Regions from separate parts of the Homo sapiens genome. Here region 1 is linked to region 2. The links are contacts of gene promoters, found by promoter capture Hi-C in blood cells and fetal thymus (Javierre and others, 2016). All regions are on one chromosome and are shown on one strand. Each heading gives the region's core, a stretch centred on a gene start or on the middle of the fragment in contact. The rest is flanking DNA. Distances are from core to core; before and after follow the strand shown.

Region 1 (6,171 bases), core at 1,426-3,925, 320 kb before region 2:
AGTGGCGCGATCTCGGCTCACTGCAACCACCGCCTCCCGGGTTCAAGCAATTTTCGTTCCTCAGCCTCCCGAGTAGCTGGGATTACAGGCGCCCGACACCACACCCAGCTAAGTTTCGTATTTTTGTAGAGAGAGGGTTTCACCATGTTGGCCAGGCTGGTCCCGAACTCCTGACCTCAAATAATCCACCCACCTTGGCCTCCCAAAGTGCTGGGATTAAAGGCATGAGCCACCACACCCAGCCGCTTTTTCAAACTATATTTTCTCTTTCTGAAAAGAGAATATTCAAAATAAAAGAAACACGATAATGGTGTAAAATCTGGGAAATTAAAGAATGGAGTGAAATAAGCCATAATCTCTTTAGTAGTAATCATGGTTTACCATTGTGATATATTCCTTTTTAATGCATTTTCCTCTGAAGGCTTTATATGTCTCTATATCTTTTAAATACATTTTAAAATGAGAATAGGAATCTGAGGGGAATAAAAGCTGTAATATAAAATACGCGCAGGCTCATTCACATGATGGAAATGTTTTCCAGAGCCACTGGGTATTCTTAGAAACCATTTCTACCGCCGCCTAGACTAAAAGGAAGTGCAGACACCGTCAGTTGTTAGCTGACCGGCTGCAACTGGAACCTGAGAGCCCTTTGGCTGGAGTGTGGGAGGAGAGGAATTCTCGTTCCTGATTTGCTGATTGGTGTCTGCAGTGTCTTCTGTGTATGCCTGACTGTGGCTCAGAATACAGGGCCCTCTGCTGGGCTATGTGGAAAATTCCATCCAGGGAATTTTCTGGAAAGAACCGAGCCATGGAGAATGTAGGGGAAATATTCTAAGAACTAAAGAAAACAACTAAGTACTCATTTGACTTGATACAAGTTGGAAACTGCTTGGCAGATACAATATTGACGTGGTCAAATTAGAAAGCTCACCCCCCACACACACATCCACCCTCCTTTTTGTTATAAACATCTGAGATGTACTGCTGTGTGAAGTTTATTTTTAAAAGTTAATGACTAAAATGGGCCGGGCACAGTGGCTCACGCCTGTAATCCCAGCACTGTGTGAGGCTGAGGTGGGTGGTGGTGCACACCAGTCATACCAGCTACTCGAGAGGTTGAGAGGTAAGAGAATTGCTTGAACCCTGGAGGCGGAGGTTTTAGTGAGCTGAGATCGTGCCACTGCACTGCATCCTGCTAGACAGAGCGAGACTCTCTTAAAAAGAAAAAAAAGAGTTAGTGACTCAAATGGTACACTTTTATCATCACTCTGGAAAGCAAAACTGTGTAATTTTAAATATTCATACGTTTATTATCTTCAAAATCTAAATGAACTTTTGTTTTTTATTTGTTTTTATTATTATTATTATTATTATTTTGGGACAAGATCTCGCTCTGTCACCTAGACTGGAGTGCAGTGGCGCTATCATAGCTCACTGCAGGCTTGAACTCACAGGCTCAAGCCATCCTCTCACCTCATCATCCCCCCCACCAACTGCAGCCCCACCACCACCTCAGCTCCCCCACCAGTAGCTGGGACTACAGGCGTGCACCACCATGCCTGGCTAATATTTTTTATTATCTTTGTAAAGACGAGGATCTCCCTATGTTGCCCAGGCTGGTCCCAGACTCCTGGGCTCAAGTCATCTTCTGTCCTTGGTCTCCCAAAGTGCTGGGATACACCCATGAGCCACCGCACCCAGCCTGTTTTTTTTTTTAAATATTAAACTTCCTATCCACCTGGAGTAGTGTAAACTTGTTCTGTGATTTGGCAGTTTTCTTCTCAGAATCACTTGTCTCTAGCCACATGTTGGAGCAGAGAATGTCATGAAACCATTGGTTTAGGTGCTGGGTGTAGGCTCATTCTTTGCTCCTCATATAACCTAGTTAGTTAAGATATTAACAAAAGAGAAGAGGGTAATATCTAAATATAGACTTTTATATAATGAGATACTAATACATCCATTAAAACAAATGCACTCACTTGGAAAGATGCCATTATTTTACTGCCAAGTGAATAAAAATAGCTTGCAGAGCAGTAAGTACTCACTGATCTCATTTTCCTTAAAAAAATTATCTTGGTATAAGATCAGCAAAATGTTCCAAAGCACATGCAAAGAATTAAAATTTTGGGGGGCCTAATTCATTGCTTTTTTTTCGTGACTTCTAATTTGTCAATTATAAAAATATTTTCCCTGGCTGGGCGTGGTGGCTCATGCCTGTAATCCTGGCACTTTGGGAGGCCAAGGCAGGTGGATTGCCTGAGCTCAGGAGTATGAGACCATCCTGGGCGACATGGTGAAACCACATCTCTACTAAAAATACAAAAAAAAAAAATTAGTCAGGCGTGGTGGTGGGCACCTGTAGTCCCAGCTACTTGGGAGGCTTAGGCAGGAGAATTGCTTGAACTCAAGAGGCCAAAGTTGCAGTGAGCCGAGCTTGAGCCACTGCACTCCAGCCTGGGCGACAGAGCGAGACTCCGTTTCCAAATATATATATATATATTTTTTTTCCCCTAGTTTTAACGTAATACTCCCAAGTTTGTTGATTGGTTTTATTTTTTATTTATTTATTTTTTTTGTTTTACATTCAAAGCTTCTATCCAGATGAAATTTATTTTGGCATGAGGAGTAAGATAGACATTGAATTTTCTTTTTTATTTCCCCAAGTAACTGCTAGGGGACCCTAGAAATAATTGAAAGTTATTTGAATTTCTCAGGAAAATAGCACTTTGAAGTTCTCAGTTAGTGAAAGCTTTCAAAGGAAGAAAATTTTCAGAACCCTTTAAATATTGCACTTAACTGGGCATGATGGCTAGCACCTGTAATCTCAGCTACTCCAGAGGCTGAGGTAGGAGGACTGCTTGAACCTGGGAGGCAGAGGTTGCAATGAGCCGAGATCAAGCCACTACGCCAGCCTGGGCAACAGAGGGAGACCCTGTCCGTGAATTAGGTCAGTCTTGCATTGCTATAAAGAAATACCTGAGACCGGGTAATTTATAAAGAAAAGAGGCTTAATTGGCTCACAGTTTTATACAGGACTGTACAGGAAGGAGCCTGGGGAGGCCTCAAGGAGCTTTTACTCATGACGGAAGCCAAAGTGGGAACAGGTATCTCACATGGCAGAGCGAGAGCAAAGGGTGGGGAGGTGCCACACACTTTAAACAACCAAATATCTCGTGAAGTGAACCCACTCACTATAGCGAGGACAGCACCAAGCCATGAAGGATCTGCCCCCATGACCCAATCACCTCCCACCAGGCCCTACCTCAAACATTGAGGATTACAATTCAACATGAGCTTTGGCAAGGACATATATTCAAACTATATCACCCCATCTCTAAAGAAAAATTTGTAAGTAAATAAGTAAAAATAAATATTTGCACTTTTTTTTTAAAGATGCCCAGGCTGGAGTGCAATGGCGTGATCTCGGCTCACTGTAACCTCCGCCTCCCAGGTTCAAGCGATTCTCCTGCCTCAGCCTCCCGAGTAGCTGAGACTACAGGTGCCCGCCACCACACCCAGCTAATGTTTATACTTTTAATAGAGACGGGGTTTCACCATGTTGGCCAGGATGGTCTCGATCTCTTAACCTCATGATCCGCCCGCCTTGGCCTCCCAAAGTACTGGGATTACAGGCATGAGCCACAGCACCTGGCCGGTTTTTCTTTGTAGTTTTAGTAGAGACAGGATTTCACCATGTTGGTCAGGCCAGTCTCAAACTCCTGACCTCAGGTGATCCGCCTGCCTCGGCCTCCCAAAGTGCTGGGATTACACATGTGAGCCACTGCGCCCAGCCTTATCTCAACTTTTTATATTGATTACATGGTGAAATGATAACATTTTGGATATAATGGATTAAATAAAATATATTAAATTATTTTAAAAAATCAGTAGTTTGCGGAAAGGCACTTTGAGATCTTGTAAACATTCTGTTCCTCATCAAATTTTCAATGTATTCATTTATTTATATCAGTATGGACTCATGGTTCCCTATTTTATTCTATGAGTTATAGGTTATTTTTTATTTTAAAAAATTTATATTCTTTTCATCACATAAATTGGGATAGCGATGGAGAAGAATGAAGTACTGCAGCAGATCTGAATAGTCATACAAGTGAGTATGTAGAATATATGTTAGTTACCCCAGAGCATGAAGAGTGAAATTCTCATGAGCTAAACATTCACATGATGGATTTTACGGTGTTACTGTAAGTCCACCTAGCATTTCCAGTTGAGCACATCCTTCCTAGGTGAAATGATAGAAAGAATAACAAACCCTTGAGTGCTAGCTCTGTATCAAGTGCTGCCCTAAGCGACTCCACATATGAACTCACCTACATTTCACAGATAAGGAGACAGGCTTGGAGGAAGGCAGTAACTTAGCCAGGAACACAGCACGAGTGTGGGCCAGAGCCAAGATTCTAACCCAGGCAGTGTGGCTCCCACCACCACGTTCTTGCTTGTTGTTCTCTTCTGTGTCCAGAAGATTCCTTCCTGCCCCACCTTGTTCTCACCACTCTCTGGTTAATTCTATGTAGCCATGGTCTAAACCAGTTATACAATCATCCTAGGTGAGCTGCACATTTTTAAAAATTAAACTTTGATTTTGAGATCAGTGTCAATTCCCATGCAATTGCAAGAATAATACAGAGAGATCCTATGTGCCCTTCACCCAGTTTCCTCCAATGGTGACACCTTCCAGAATAACAGCACAATATCACAACCAGGATGTGGCCATTGACACAACCCCGGGATGTCTCCTGCTGCCCTTTCGCAACCACACCTGCTACACTAGTGCCTGCCGTGTATCCCCTCCAGGTTCCTAATCCCTGACACTAATCTGTTCTCTATCTCTAGAATGTTGTCATTTCACGACTGTTATAGAACTTGAATTATACAATATGTGAACTGTTGGATTTGACTTTTTTCACTCAGCATAGTTCCCTGGAGATTCATCCAAGTTGCTGCATGTATCAACATCTTGTACCTTTTTTTTTCTTCTTTTTTTGAAACAGGGTCTCACTCTGTCACTCAGGCTGGAGTGTAGTGGCACGATCACGGCTCACTGCAACCTCCCCCTCCCGGGCTCAAGTGATCCTCCCACCTCAATCAACCTCCCAGATAGCTGGGACTACAGGTGCAAACCACCACACCAGGGTAATTTTTGTATTTTTTGTAGAGACGGGGTTTTGCCATGTTGCCCAGGCTGGTCTCGAACTCCTGGGCTCAAGTGATCCACCTACCTCAGCCTCCCAAGGTGCTGAGATAACAGGCATGAGCCACTGCGCCCAGCCCATCTTATTCCTTTTTCTTGTTGAATAGTATTCCACAGTATGGATGTACCATGGTTTGTTTAACCATCCACCTATTGAAGAATGTCTGGGTTGTTTCCAGTCTTTCATTATTTCTAACATAGCTGCTATGAACATTAATGTACAGGTTTTTATGTGAATATAGGTTTTCATTTCTCTAGGATAACTGCCCAAGAGTGCAATTGCTAGGTTATATGGTAATTGCATGTTTAGTTTGTAAGAAGCTACCAGACTGTCTGGATCATTTTACATTCCCACCTGCCATGCATGAGTGATCCGTTTTCTCTGCATCCTGGCCAGCATCTCGTATTGTCACTGTTTTTTTTTTTTTAATTTTAGCCATTCTGATATTCATGACTGATAGCTGATTGTGGTTTTAATTTGTATTTTCTTTTCTTTTTCTTTCTTTCTTTCTTTCTTTTTTTTTTTTTTTTTTTGAGATGGAGTCTCACTTTGTCGCCCAGGCTGGAGTGCAGTGGTGCAATCTCGGCTCACTACAACCTCTGCCTGTTGGGCTCAAGCAATTCTCCTGCCCCAGCTTCCCCAGTAGCTGGGACTACAGGTGCGCACCACCACGCCGGGCTAATTTTTCTATTTTTAGTAGAAAAAAAATACAGGGTTTTACTATGTTGGCCAGACTGGTCTCGAACTCCTGAGCTCAGGTGATCTGCCCACGTCAGCCTCCCATAGTGATGGGATTACAGGCGTGAGCCACCACACTTGGCCTAATTTGCATTTTCTTAATGGCGAGTGATATTGAACATCTTTTCATGTGGATATTTGCCATCTGTACATCCCATTCAGTGAAATGTCTCTTCGCATCTTTTGCCAATTTTCTAAAGGGATTGTTTGCTTCTTT
Region 2 (5,866 bases), core at 1,937-4,436:
AAATCAGGTGCTTCCCCCAGCAGTTCTCGCCCCCACCTGGCTGAACTCACTATCCCCAGGAGGGGTAGGGGCCACCCTAGCAGAAAGACCTCAGATACAGGATGAGGTCCATCCATGGAGAACCCAGGATAACCACAAAACATCCTGACCTGGGAGGCTGAATACTGGGCCTAAGGCAAGGAAGGTAAAGCATGGCCAGCTCCCAAAGACAACCTTGTGTCCCCATATGGCACAGATACCCAGTTGCTTTGCATGTTGTGACAGGGAGTAGGGGAGGGGCTGGGGGAGACTGGAAGTAGGGCTGAATGGAGGATGGGGAGGAAGCCAGGAGGAGCCATGGGTCCACGACCTCTAACTGGAAACCCCAAGGGCTGGACATGCTCTGGAGTTCAGTTTTTTGGGATTTTAGGAAGATGGGGTGTAAAATCTGTATATCACATAACACTCCCAGAAAGGGGGATGGGGGTCTCAGACATGCCCCTGTGAACAGAGATAATTGAACATTTATACGCAAGGAAACTTTTAAATATCATTTCAGTTGAATGAGCTTTTTAGATTTCAAAAAAGGAGGGAGCAAGAAACTGGACATAAAACCTTACCCCAAAAAAGGCACATGTCCTGCCTGACCCTTCCTGATCCCCAAAGACATACACCCATCCTCAGACTACTCTCATACTCAAGGATACTCAACACACCAACCACTAAGGACTTGGTCATCGCACCCTATGTCCTGATCCCCATTAATACACGCTAGACCCTCAAGGAGGCCTCACTACATCTTACCTGCTATTATCTCATATACCCATCAGCATTCAAAGCCCTAACACATAACATACCGCCCTGAACTCTGTCAGCACACACTTAGCCTCCTCTAAGTAACTCTTGCCACCACATTCTTGGGCCCCTCCCTGGCCTAGCTGCTTGTTACCTTCTCCATAGTACTGACTCCCCTCATTAACGTACTGTTCCCCCTACATGATTCTGACCTCTATTAACATGCACTTGGGGTACTCTATAGCTGACCCACATTAGCACTCACTGGACCTTCTTCATGCTGCTCTGAATGCTATTAACATAAAGTGAACCTTACAGATAGATCTCTAACCAGTGTTACCCACACTCAGGCCCCTTCACAGCTACGACCATCCTTAACACACATTCCAGTCCTTCCACTGTCCTGTCCCCTCTGTCAGCACAAACTGAGTCTTCACTCAGGCCTGATTTCTATTAGCACACGCCGGGCCTCACACAGTCCTGCCTCCCCATTAGTGCACCCTGAACCCTTACTCAGCCCTATTCCGCAGGGACACACAAACACACTGTTCTACCATGGCCTGACCCTCATTAGTGCACACAGGTCTCATTCAGCCCTGACTCCCATTAGCACACACTTCAGCCCTCCCTAGCTGTAATCCACTTTAGCACACCGAGATCATCACACATTCCTGTCCTCTATTGCTCTCTGCTCAGAGATATCTCCACAGATATAATCCTTGTTGGTTCACACTTAGATCCCTTCATGAAAGCCCTGATCCCCCTTATTACACACTAGATCCCCTCCGCAGCCCTACCCCCGAGTAGCACCCCCTGGAACCTCAACATACTCTGGTCCTCCGCGGACACAAGGGCACAATCTTCACAAGGTTCTGATGCTTATTAGCATATTCCAGACTTCACACAGCTGACTCTCGAAATGGCACACATTGAAGTGCCTCTATGTCTCTAAACCCACATTAGCAACCACCAGTACTTCTATTACCCTGCTCCTTCCTAGTGTGCCCTCGAGACTCACATTCCCTGTGTCCATGGACACACTCACACCTCACATCACCTTTACCCTTCGTCCACTAAGCCTCTGACAGTGCTAAGACACTTCCCCACCACTCCTTCCTGGGCCCAGACAGACACGCAATTCTCATCTCCTTTAGGCCAGGCTCAGGTATTCCACAGTCCTTCCTCCGTTAGATACCCTCAGGTCCTTCCTCCACTCTGCCCTCATTAGCATATACTGGGTCCCAAACTACCTAGACCTTCGAGGCCACAGGCATACACCCTCTACAGCCATGACCCCCACTGGCGCACACACCACACTCGAGTCCTTCAGCTACCTGCCCTCCACAAGCACACACTGCATTCTCACACACTGCAGGCCCCACGGACAGACACGCAGTATTAACACCATCCAGGGCCTCATCGCCACGCACCAGGCCTCAGAGCCCTGACCCCACCAACACACGTTCTGGTACCTGTGCCACCCTGTCCCCCATGAACACACACCGGGCCTCTCTGCGGACATAATCCCTATGAGCATGTCTTAGAACTTCCTCGACACCCTACCCCCCGTTATACACCCTCGGGTCCCTCACCCGCTCCGCACCCCGCCCTCCTTCCACAAGCACACACGGGGCCTTGAACCTTACACGACTTATTGGCGTGAGGCTTACTGCCACATGCTCCGACCCCCATCAGCAACCCCCCCAAGTCTTTCACCCCATTGTCACCCATTTCCACACCCTTTGGTCCTTTGACTCCCCCAGGTCCCCATTAGCACCCACAGCACTACCCAACCCCAGCTCCCAGGACAGGCCCAGGGCGGGGCCAAGGTCAGGGAGGCCCCAAATGACCCCCCGCCCCGGTGCATTCTGGGAAATTCGCCGGGGGTGGGGGCACCTGCCAGCCCCGCAGCCCAGACCCCTGGGCACCGCCCGAGGTGGGTTCTGAAGGAGGAGGGGCAGCCTCCACGCCTCGGGGACGCGCTCACCGGCGGGGGCGCGCGAGCAACCTCAGAGCCGCGGGGCCGGCGCGGCGGCGCCTGGGGCGGCGGCCCGGGATGAGGCCGCGCGACCTCCTTCTCCTCCTGTTCGCCGCAGGCGCCCGTCCCAGTAGTCTTCAGCCATGGTTGCTGGGCCCGGGCCGCCGCCGGCTGAGGAGGAGGAGGCGGCGGCGGCGGCGGTGGCTGAGGCGGAGGCGGCGTCCCGCTCAGCCGGCCATGAGCTTGGCCGCTGCGGGCGATGCCCCCGGACTCGTTGGCGCCGGCTTGAATCCGAGTGCTCACGGCGGCTCGCGGCACAGAGCGGTCTGATCGCGGAGTGGCGGCGGATCCCAGGGCCGAACAGCCAACGGCCCAACCGCCGCGCGCGCCGCGCTCCGCGCATGCGCACGCAGGCGCTCGGAAGGGTGAAGTGGAAAGGAGGGGACTCACCTCGGACTGCATGTACCAAAGGACCCGTCCGCAGCGGGAGGGGACGCGGCCATCGCGAGCCCAGAGGAGGATGCGGCGCCAAGCCGGAGACGGCACCAGGGAGAACTGTGGAGGCTGTTTAGTACTCAGTTCCGATCTTGGCAGAAGTTTGCTAGCGCCTAGGTGAGCAGTGGCCAGTAACCTGGCGCGTCAATCACCACTCGTTCCCCCTACTCGGTCTCACTTGGTACATCCCCATGGTGGCAAACGGGACTTTTGCAAGGAGGAAAAAAGACAAATGAAGCACTCAGTTCTAGTCCCTTGAGGTGCTTGGGGAGGAAGGCATTTTAAAGGTTCGCGAGAAGATGACTTTTCGAGGAGAGGCAGCCTGAAGAGTTATTGGCCTTTACCACCTTAGCTAGGACGGCCTATCCCCGCCCAACTGCCCCCTCCACCGCTACCTCATTCCCGTAGTGAACGTGTGCAGCCCCGCCCTTTGAGGTTGTCGCCCAGCCAATCTGATTTGCTCTCTGTGGCGAGGCCGAGCAAGAATAAAGGGCGTGGCTGACTGAAGAGGCGTGATTTCGCTCTCTACCCGACTCCGCACGCCTCCGCCCAGGTTTCATAGGTTTTCACCGTCGGCGGGGGTGGGGTCTCCTTTTTGTTCTGAGCTCCTCCTTCGCTATAGGCCGAATATTCCGCAAGGTGATTGGTCATAATTGCGCTCAATCGAGTCTCGTCCCGCCTTTAGCCCGCCCTCCATCTCATACAGCGGGCCTCCCGGGGTGGAACCCAGGCTGAGAAAGAAGGAAAGAGGCGGATCCTTAGAGGCGCAGGAGCCGCTACTGCGCATGCTTGGAACTTCGAGCGGGGCGGAGCCTCTTTTCTGCCTCACACGAGTATTTGCATAGGCGCCGTGCGTTGGATTTTCCTGCCACCTCTCTTGCCCGGCACAGCCCCTCCCGTGCCTCCCCTCACTCTGAGGGTTTTTTGTTTTGTTTTGATGTCAGTCAACACAAGTAGAACACTCCGCGGTTTTATTTCCATTTTATTTATTGGGCGCATGTTGTGTGCCAAGTACTACCAGGCCGACCTAATCCTTCACTTCCTTCTGCCTGGAAAACCACACTATCCCCAAGTCCAGCTCAAAGGGCTGCAACCTCCAGCAGGCCTTCTGGCACATCCTTACACTACCCTGTTCCAAGGCAGCCTCCCCGCCTCTTCCGGGCTTCCCTTTATGGCAGCCTTGATCACAGCAGTTAGGATTTTCAGTAAGGTTTACATTAGTGAGATTTCCCGGGCCATGATGGGAGTGGAAATATTTGACAAAGATAAAAGTCCTCGCCTTGGCATAGAACAGGCTCATCACTTCTCTGACCTCATCTCTTCCTCTTCTTCCCCTGACTCACTGCCACCATACTAGCGCTCTTTCTAGCTGTTTGAGTGAAACGGGCACAATCCAGCCTCAGGGGTTTTGCATTTGCTGTGGTTCCCTTTGCCTGGAATGCTGCTGGCCCACATCCACGTGCCTCATTCTCTCACTTCTTCCAGGTGCTTGCTTCAAAGTCATCTCCATGAAGCCTTTCCGATTTAAAAATTCCTACCTGCACTGCCATCATTCCAGATCCCCAGATCGGGCTCTATTCCTCGCCTTTTGAAGAGCACTGATCAACTTCTAAGGTACAATTTGCTTACTGTGTTTATAATCTATTCTGGGTGTCAACCTAGCAGAACGTAAAACCCCAAGAGGACAGGGATCTTTGTTTTATCCACTGCTGTCTCACGTGCCTAGAAAGTGACTGGCACACAGCACACAACAAATGTTTGTTGAATGCCTGCCAGAGCAGGCCAAGAAAATAAAATGATCAGAAGGAGGTGGGCAAATAGTTCCAGGCAGTGACAAGAGAAACCTTTGTCCCACCCTATCCTTTGTGGCTGCTGGGTGCAGGGGGCTCGGTGCAATGACGCAACCCCCGCCTGCTAAGCCCTGATCTCCCATCTGGCTGGTGTTAACAATGGTAGACTGGTAGACAAACCGCAGAAGTAAAATGGAATGAGGTGGAGGGGGAACAACTAAGATGCAACCAGGATTCATGCATGACTCAAAAGCTTGTTTTGATGGAGAAGGGTGTCAGGCACGAATAAGGTGTCAAGGAGATCCAGGAGTTGTGGTGGGGAAGACATGGAGCCGTAATGGGGGAGGTGCAGTGAACAAGGTGTCTATAGAGTATCCGCAAAGGAGCTGGCATACTGGAGAAAGAAGACAACAGTTGTGTTCAAGCCTCAGCTGCTGTAGTGGTGTGGCCAGTGGACTGCGGTGTGGAGTGTCTAGGGTACTCTAGAGCAATAATGGGAAAGTTCCTGTGGTGGGAAAAACTTTCCCTTTGACAGTATCACCACTAGATACCAAAGGGAAAATGCCTCTGTCCTCAACGTCCTAGTGGGGAAGAAGAAACTGTGGAAGGATAAGGTCACCCAAGCAGAGCAGGCCAAGAAAATAAAATGATCAGAAGGAGGTGGACAAGGGCATATACTGTGCCCAGGACCAGGAACTACTGGCCCAGGAGGCAGCAGATGTGGGCACAGGCTGTGATGGGAATCAAGCCAGTTCAGAACAGGTTGAGCTATTCCTTACACTCAGGTTTGAGTAGAAGAGTGAGGGATCTTGTTTCTAAGTAAGGTAGA

The links. Contacts are between HindIII fragments. The CHiCAGO score rates a contact against its expected background, and 5 or more counts as called.
Region 1: a fragment that was not itself captured here is called in contact with the fragment with the promoter of CDK16 in region 2 in 10 of 17 cell types (total B cells, monocytes, megakaryocytes and 7 more); the score reaches 12.5 in total B cells.

Annotation. Positions count from the first base shown.
Region 1 is chrX:47,535,835-47,542,005 of GRCh38, reverse strand. No RefSeq gene overlaps it. Among named protein-coding and RNA genes, the nearest start is that of ARAF, 22 kb to the left of the region's middle. RefSeq lists an enhancer at 522-816. The HindIII fragment of the contact is 159 bases long and covers 2,596-2,754 here.
Region 2 is chrX:47,216,001-47,221,866 of GRCh38, reverse strand. CDK16 (cyclin dependent kinase 16) reads right to left here and starts at 3,186. Exons shown (of 16, transcript NM_006201.5): 1 at 2,762-3,186. LOC105373194 (a long non-coding RNA gene) reads left to right here and starts at 3,217. Exons shown (of 3, transcript XR_949047.4): 1 at 3,217-3,364; 2 at 4,733-4,861. RefSeq lists silencers at 2,673-2,742, 2,753-2,862, 2,883-3,042, 3,743-3,852 and enhancers at 2,460-3,099, 3,243-3,312, 3,433-3,552. The HindIII fragment of the contact is 18,663 bases long and covers 1-5,292 here.